Regions from separate parts of the Homo sapiens genome. Here regions 2 and 3 are each linked to region 1. The links are contacts of gene promoters, found by promoter capture Hi-C in blood cells and fetal thymus (Javierre and others, 2016). All regions are on one chromosome and are shown on one strand. The core of a region is centred on a gene start or on the middle of the fragment in contact, and the rest is flanking DNA. Distances in the headings are between cores, read along the strand shown.

The links. The method cuts DNA at HindIII sites, captures the fragments that hold promoters and counts their contacts. A CHiCAGO score of 5 or more calls a contact.
Region 2: a contact is called between a fragment that was not itself captured here and the fragment with the promoter of RSPO2 in region 1, in 3 of 17 cell types (megakaryocytes, M1 macrophages and M2 macrophages). The highest score is 9.0, in megakaryocytes.
Region 3: a contact is called between a fragment that was not itself captured here and the fragment with the promoter of RSPO2 in region 1, in 3 of 17 cell types (M0 macrophages, megakaryocytes and M2 macrophages). The highest score is 6.6, in M0 macrophages.

Annotation. Positions count from the first base shown.
Region 1 is chr8:108,082,249-108,084,965 of GRCh38, reverse strand. RSPO2 (R-spondin 2) reads left to right here and starts at 1,346. Exons shown (of 6, transcript NM_178565.5): 1 at 1,346-1,769; 2 at 2,159-2,421. The coding sequence starts at 2,328. RefSeq lists a silencer at 2,315-2,490 and an enhancer at 2,207-2,717. The HindIII fragment of the contact is 4,613 bases long and covers 1-2,717 here.
Region 2 is chr8:107,811,673-107,814,435 of GRCh38, reverse strand. No RefSeq gene overlaps it. Among named protein-coding and RNA genes, the nearest start is that of RSPO2, 270 kb to the left of the region's middle. The HindIII fragment of the contact is 1,152 bases long and covers 771-1,922 here.
Region 3 is chr8:108,493,244-108,496,340 of GRCh38, reverse strand. No RefSeq gene overlaps it. Among named protein-coding and RNA genes, the nearest start is that of EMC2, 51 kb to the right of the region's middle. The HindIII fragment of the contact is 3,322 bases long and covers 1-2,937 here.

The DNA of each region.
Region 1 (2,717 bases), core at 97-2,596:
GAAATATCAAGTTATGCCAAACACTGGGGCCACTCCCTACACTGAAATGTTTCCAAATTCTGTGATAAAAATCAAAGGCTCAAAAGTCAAGAAACAGATCCACTGTTTCTGCAATGTGTTTTGTGAACTCTATTTGTGCCCTGTGGGCCAGTCTCAGTGATGGATTTTCTTATCTATGAAATGGGACCAATGACCTCAACTCAGATTTACTTGGGTGTTCTCAGGCATGCATCAAAGGCATACTGCTGAAATTCTTAGCACATAAATACCACTATGTAATAGTGAGTCTGTAAAATAGTTATGAATAGGCAATAATGGAATAGTTAATAAATATGAGTATTGCAATATTCTTTTTATATGATTGTCTTTTAAGTCATCAAATTTCTGAACATCTTCTGAAACTGAAGGAATAGAAAAGGGAATTTAAATAGTATAAAATGCTATCATAATAATATGGTAACTGCGGGCATATCTATAGACATTCATACTGCCACGGTTAGTGGCATAAATTCTTATCTTTTGCTTAAGGAATAAATACATTTTTTCCTACAGTAGTGAATGCAGGACAGATTTCACCAGAATGAAATTGGATGGCATCAAGTCTATTTAATGTAACACTTTGTTAAACAGAATATTTTCCCCAAACCCAAAGCACCTAAAAGTTTAATTCAGGAGACTTTGGAAATGAGAGGAGGATTAAGAATGAAAAATACTTTAGTGGGAAGTGAACTTTTTAAAATTATTTTTAAAGAATCAAGGCCCCAACTTCTTCAGCACTTCAGGCAACGGATCACAGGTTTTTGTTTTATTGGAGAAGAAACAAAGTAAATAACAGTTCTGAGGATGAACAAAAGCTGTTGGGAATACCCATTTCACTCCTCAAAGTGGGGGCGCGTTTTATGAATAATTTCAGCCGGCTAACATACCTTCCTGCAAAACACAGACAAGATGTAAATTAAAAAGTGGCAGAGTTGTGGCATATTGCAAAAGTTTAAAGGGAGTCATCAGTCCTTCAGTCAGATCTCCCTGCAGAAAGGTTGGCGCTGAGGTTGGAACTGACCCTAGAGGGCTGGAGAGGACCCCTTGGGGGTGAGCAGCCGGGTTCTGGGACCCAGCAAGGTCAGGGGGCGTCTCCCCAGCTACTCTTTATCTATCCCCCGCACTCTGGAAAGCCCGAAGAGGATTCGCTCCAAGTTAGGCGCGCTGTTGGCTGTCAACGTTCTTTAGGACCTCAGGGAAACCGGGACGTTTCTGGCTTTAGGACCCAGGAACTCCGAGGCAGCCTAGACTTAGATGCCTTGGACCACAGCACCACCTACTTATAGAAGCATCCCAAGCCTCAGCCGGTCTGCATCTCCATCGGAAAGTGCGCTTGCCACATCCCTTCGGATCACTTCGTCCTCCCGAGAGCGTTCTGCCTTCTACAGCTCGGAAAGAAAGAAATCTTAGCTGTGAAGTGACCGTGGAGAAAGCGCAGGAAGCGACACAATTGGTTAGGGAGGCAGAGAGTGTGAGCGGGCGCACCCCTTGCCTGGGGACCGCGCTCGCGGGCGGGGACGGAGCATCCCAGTGGCTGCACCCGCCGCTCCGCGCTCCTGCCTGGCGTCGCCAACCCCGCGGCGGCCGCTGGAATTCCAGAGCTGCCAGGCGCTCCCAGCCGGTCTCGGCAAACTTTTCCCCAGCCCACGTGCTAACCAAGCGGCTCGCTTCCCGAGCCCGGGATGGAGCACCGCGCCTAGGGAGGCCGCGCCGCCCGAGACGTGCGCACGGTAGGCAACCCACACCAAGGCAGCCGCAGCTGCGGCGCTTGGGTACACCGCCGTGGACTCCAAATGGCCTAAGAGCGTTCTTTTAGCCCTGCGCTCTCAGTGCCTTTAGAGTTCTTTCCTTTCCCCGGAGCGCCGGCACAACGCATTATGCCGCTGGGTCGGAGCTTAGGGCTCGGCAGAGGTTGCTAATTCACTGATTATAATCACCTTCCTCTCCAACTCGTCCGCAGCTGCCCGCTCTGGATTAAGCCGCTCCGCGGCTCGTGCTAGGCAGTGGGTTCGCTTCCTCCTTCCCTCTCTTCTTTAAATTGGGACGTGCGAAGGCGCAGCTGCCTCCCCGGGGCTCTCTCCATCCCCCACACACCCTGTTTTCGCTTCTTGTCTCTCAGGTTCGTGGCGGAGAGATGCTGATCGCGCTGAACTGACCGGTGCGGCCCGGGGGTGAGTGGCGAGTCTCCCTCTGAGTCCTCCCCAGCAGCGCGGCCGGCGCCGGCTCTTTGGGCGAACCCTCCAGTTCCTAGACTTTGAGAGGCGTCTCTCCCCCGCCCGACCGCCCAGATGCAGTTTCGCCTTTTCTCCTTTGCCCTCATCATTCTGAACTGCATGGATTACAGCCACTGCCAAGGCAACCGATGGAGACGCAGTAAGCGAGGTGGGTCCCTCTCTGCCAAAGGTGCGTGGTGGGCTTCAGGGGTGGCGTGTGGAGGCGCTCACTCACGCCCTGGCTCCGGGGGCTCAGATGGTCAGGGCTGTGCTCTCCACCCCAGCTTTTGCGGGTCCCCAGTCCCCACCTTTAGGACCCTGGAGCTCTACAAAACACTCTGTTTTCTGTACCCTGGAGGCGCGGGGAGCCGGAGCGAGACGCGCTGGGAGCTCGGCGAGCCGGGCGCCAATCGGGCGCTCAGGGCTAAGTCGTGCGGTCCGCACTCATGTTCGCCGCCCCACCTC
Region 2 (2,763 bases), core at 97-2,596, 270 kb after region 1:
ACTGGGTAATTTATAAAGAAAAGAGTTTTAATCGACACACAATTCTGCATGGCTTGGGAGGCCTCAGGAAACTCACAGTCATGGCAGAAGGGAAGCAGGCACCTTCTTCACAAGGCGGCAGGAAAAAGAAGAGCAAAGGAGGAAATTCCAAACACTTACAAAACCATCAGATCTTGTGAGAACTCACTCACTATCATGAGAACAGCATGGAGGAAACCACCCCCATGGTCCAATCACCTCCCTCCCTTACACGTAGGGATTACAGGTCCCTCCCTTACATGTGGAGATTAAAATTCAAGATGAGATTTGGGTGGGGACACAAGGCCTTATCATATCAGCCAGCAAATTGCTCTGCTTCCAAACAGCAACAACCACAACAAGGCTCAGTTCAGGCAAATATGCATCAGTGGCTACACAAGGATGTAGTAATGAAGGATCCTGAAAGGAAGTGAAGAATGATGGAGAAAGTGGCAAGAGATAATAATAATTAGAACACTGGTGGTTGACATTGAGAGATATTGTGAAGCAGTGGCTAGAACTGGGTTCTTGGAAGGAAGACAGGCAGGGACAGGAAGTGACAGGCAATAAGAAGTGGGCTAGGGAACAAAGCCTTGTAGTCAACTGAGTCTTAGTCTTAGGACTTCTAGACGTGAATTTGAGTGAATCAGTAAATGTTTTTTAAAAGTAACGCATGCAACTTAAGAACGACTACACTACACTACATCCCTTTATTCATGTAGTACAACTAAAGGTTTTCACTAACTCAAGCTTCCTCTGCTTCCATTCCAAGTCAGACTCTTAACTTGGTCTGCAGCCTACATTTCATGTCATACTTTGCCATCTAGTGGCTGGTCATAGTATAAGGCAAAAACTTAAACCCAAACATAGATTTCTATATACTTTGTTGAAAACCTGAGACATTCAACTTTGTAAAATGTAAGAGATTCTGTTTGTTTTCTTTATATGCTGTCTTACTCCAAAGAGAATACATGGTGGCTTAGCTTTGGGGTTGAAATTTCAGATTATGACAGAGCTAGGCAAGTTTAAGAGAGTAAAATAAAAAGAATTATAAATTTTCACTCATTATTTTTCTTAACATTTAAACATCACTTTCCTTGGTATTTCTCTTCCATATAGAGTTTATATAAACTGAAATCCAATAGGTTTTTCCAATCTAGTCATTCCGGTAGGTTTATTTTATTATTATGTGCTAAAACCAACCTAACTCTTATTTAATTATGTCAAATGGTGTAGATCATTTTCCCTATAATTTATCTAGCTTTTCTTTCTTCCTTTGTATTCCTCAGTGAAGGAGATATTACTTGACATTTTTGCATCATTAAAAACAATCTATGGTTCAACTTCCTGTTGCCTCATGTGAGACACGTCTGGTCATTATTGAGTTAGCTTACAATTTAAACAAAATATTCAGGAAACTTTTATTCTTTGTTCTACTCAGCATCAAGTCTCTTTAGGACTGCTTAGTGCAACATTTGTACTGCCAGGAACAAGTGAATGACAATTCACACTTAGCAGTCAGTATATGCTGATGGTCAAACAAATGAGGGGGAAGCCCTTGTGTTGAACGGTTTAAGCGATAATCTGAGAAGAACACAGTCTACTTCCAGACTACCTTTGGAGAAAATGGTGAATGCACAGGATTTAGTTTAGTAGTTAAGAGCGTGCCTTGGAGGGAATAGACAGATTTATATTCCAGTTCTTTTATTTTTACTTAAAAAAAAAATGAGGTCTTGTTTTGTTGCCCAGGCTGGTCTTGAGCTCCTGGGCTCAAGAGATCCTCCTACCTTGGCCTCCCAAAGTGGTGGAATTACAGGCATGAGCCACCACACCTGGCCTATATTCTAGTTCTGATACTTACTAGTTGTGTTGCCTTTTTTAAAGTGATTTAACCCCTTTAAGCTTCATTTCCTTTATCTGTCAAATAACAAAAAAATTGTACTTGCCTCATAAAAAACTTGGGAGGATTAAATAATTTACGCATAGCTTAGTCTTAGTACAGTGTCTTGCACACAGTAAACAATAAATAGGAGTTGTTATGATGATAGTTTTGCCTATGTTTTGCCATTAATTTCTAATCCTGCCTAAACAACCTTTTGTAATGTAAATTCTTGGCTTACTATCATGTATCTATGAGATTCTCCTTGGGAAGCCTCTACAATAAGCACTGTAGCCTGAAGAGTGATTAGCGTTTGATGGTCAAAGACATTTCATTCTAAACAAGAGAGGAAAAAGTTTCAAGAAAGACTAGAGTCCACAGTCATGCCCCCTGTTTATTCCAACACTGTAGGTCCTGGCTGTGCCAATGGGAATTGCCCATGGCAGCACAGTGTATGAGGGAGGGAGGAAATCTATGTTTAAATCCTCAAAATGTGTTCTCAGTACCAGTCCTTTGATTTGGATCAAGGACTCAAATGGGAAAAAGAGCCACCTGGTTTACAACAATAAAGAAGCTCCATTACAGACTTTGCAGGAGATGGGAGCAGGGCAGGGGCAGGAGATGAGAGTTTGAAACTAAATGAGCAACTGAAAGGCAGATTAGAACTTTTGTTCCACCATTTCCCAGCTAACTTAATTTGTGGCAAGTCACTGAGCACTGTGGAATCTGTTTCCTTCCTTTCTTTTCTTTTTTTCTTTTCTTTCTTTTTTTTTTTTTTTTGAAACAGGGTCTCGCTCTGTTGCCAAGGCTGGAGTGGGGTGGTGCCATCTCGGCTCACTGCAACCTCCGCCTCCCAGTTCAAGTGA
Region 3 (3,097 bases), core at 27-2,526, 410 kb before region 1:
TACTCCAGCTTGGGCGACAGAGCAAGACTCAAAAAAAAAGAAAAAAAAAAAGATAAAAAGAAAAAATTAAGTACAAATTCAAAGCCATTAAACAAAATTAGGCCATAATTTAAGCCACAAAATACCTCATTATGAGTCTTTTTAGACTAGTAAATATTTCCTTGTGGGGAAATCTTTATTATTTAGAGAATAATAAAGTAAAACAATGAAATATTTAGCAGTATACACCCCAAATAAAAAGAATATTGTTTTAAACTATTTTTACATCTTTAACATTTGTATTTTCAGAAATTCCTTCTCTTTCTAGTATTTGAAAGACTGTGTTTGTGTAGGCATTGAAGTCCTTTCCAAATATATGTATTTCATTGCCCTTAATATTTGAGAACAATTCTGCATACATAAAAAGATAGCAACGTTAAATCTGCCAGGTGACCATCAGATTACTCTCCCCGGAGCCAGCTGATACCACAGGGCCTGTTTCTAAGTACAGCTCTGACTCCTGGGTACCACTTAAGAGGCAACCATTTGTTTGGTACCATGTCTATGTCCCAACTGCTATTACTCTTCTTAAATCATCGTATCAGTGGTGCTATTTGAAGTTTGTTTTAGTAAGACATTCTTATACAGTCTTTCCCAATGCCTCTATTTGGAACTAACCAATTTTTATTCCTCTCATAAGAACTAGAGACATATTTATCTGTGCAGTTTGGTTTTGGTCAGAGTAGGTGGGCTATTAGAAAACTGCCAGCCAATGGGGCTGTGTTGTCTCCTATGTTCTCTGGCATACTATGTATGACAGATAGATCAGTATAGTGAAACTAAATCCAAAATCAGCTGTCATTTGAGTACAACTCTTGAAATCACTGGCTATTGTTACCACTCTGGAGACCTCCAATTTCATTTCAAACAGATATGATGTTGATAGTACACATTTTTACCTAGGGTTTTCAAAAGATGATATGCATACATTTTCACATAATTCTTACCCATGTTTTCATGTAATATTTAAGTTGCCTAATTATATCTCTCAAATTAGTTATGCACGAGCTCAGATTTCTTCAGTTATGAATCCATTCTGTTTGGAAATACTCACCATTACTTGGTCTATTGCAGGTAGATGTTTCCCCAGTAGTGACTTATTTGCAAGATTAATGTCTCCAAGTTTATTGCTGGTGGCAGCAGTTTGTTGAGCTGAAAACATTCTTCAGGGTTCTAATGATTTGAATACAAATCGTATTACTTGTGATGTTTACATATTATTATATGGAGTAGTAGAGATGTAATGACCCTATTGGAATTCACCTATTTATTTGTGGCTGCAAGTGGTTTATAGAAATATGCTTCTAATTTAACTTTTATTGGCATCCAAATCTAATTATTAATCAGTTTTTTATATTAAAAAACAATTTGTATAAAAGTCTTTACATTAAGACACATGTACACGTATGTTTATTGTGGCACTATTCACAATAGCAAAGACTTGGAACCAACCCAAATGTCCATCAGTGATAGACTGAAGAAAATGTAGCACATATACACCATGGAATACTATGCAGCCATAAAAAAAGATGAGTTCATGTCCTTTGTTGGGACATGGATGAAGCTGGAAACCATTATTCTGAGCAAACTATTGCAAGGACAGAAAACCAAACACCACAAGTTCTCACTCATAGGTGGGAACTGAACAATGAAAACACTTGGACACAGGGCGGGGAACATCACACACTAGGGCCTGTCATGGGGTGTGGGGGAGCAGGGAGGGATAGCATTAAGAGAAATACCTAATGTAAATGATGAGTTAATGGGTGCTGCACACCAACATGGCACATGTATACATATGTAACAAACCTGCACGTTGTGCACATGTACCCTAGTACTTAAAGTATAATTTAAAAAATAAGTAAATAAAAGTATTTACATTATTCTTGTCTTCTACTATGCTCACTATAATACAAAGTTCATACTTTCTGTATCCACTGTGGTTATTACAATTGGGTTCTTAAATAAATACAAATATGCATATATACATAGAGAGATGCATATATGAACATATGTGTATAAAGAAATAATTCTTTTTCTAAAGACCACAGGCCCAGCAGGGTGCAGTGCCTCACACCTGTAATCCCAGCACTTTGGGAGGCCGAGGCAGGTGGATCATGTGAGGTCAGGTGTTCAAAACCAGCCTGACCGACATGGTGAAACCCCATCTCTACTAAAAATACAAAAATTAGCTGGGTGTGGTGACGGGTGCCTGTAATCCCAGCTACTTAGGAGGCTGAGGCAGGAGAATCGCTTGAACCTGGGAGGCGGAGGTTGCAGTGAGGTGAGATCACACCACTTACACTCCAACCTGGGTGACAAAGCTAGACTCAGTCTCAACAACAACAACAAAACAAAACAAGCAAACAAACCACTGGCCCATATTCACTCCCTTAAGAATTATAAGTTTTTTTAAAAAGCTGTTGAAAGCAGTCAATATAAATCAAGTGAATTCACCTTGGCTTCTGAGAAAGAAAATAATAGTATAATTCTCTGTACTAATTTTAAAATTATTAAGAGAAAGATATTCAATATACAAAACAAACATGGGTAATTCAGTTCTTTACTATAGCATCTAGGGAGAATATTGTTGCTCCCCACCAAAAAAATAGAATAGGAGATGGGGGAAAACATATAAATCAGAAGAGGGGATAACTTAAAAAATGCCACACACAATCACAATGTAAGAAACAAAGTAACATGCAGATCTCCATGAAATCATTTGCTTCTTTCAATCATTGTTTTCAAAATACAGTCTATTTGAAACCAATGGTTCTCAAATTTTAGCAGGCCTCAGAAACACCAGACAGGCTTATTAAAACACAAAGTGAACCCCACTCAAGTTTCTCATTCAGTAGATATGGGGTGGCACTCAACAGTTTTCATTTCTAATAAGCTTCCAAGTGACCAGACTTTGAGAACCACTAACTAGACCTTTCTATAGTCCATCAACTTCTCTTGGCATTCACATAATCTTTAGAGTTGGGAAAAATTGGTGGCTAAGAATGGCTCCAGTTTACATTTCTCAAACTAGTCAAATTTCTAAGAATTATTTTTT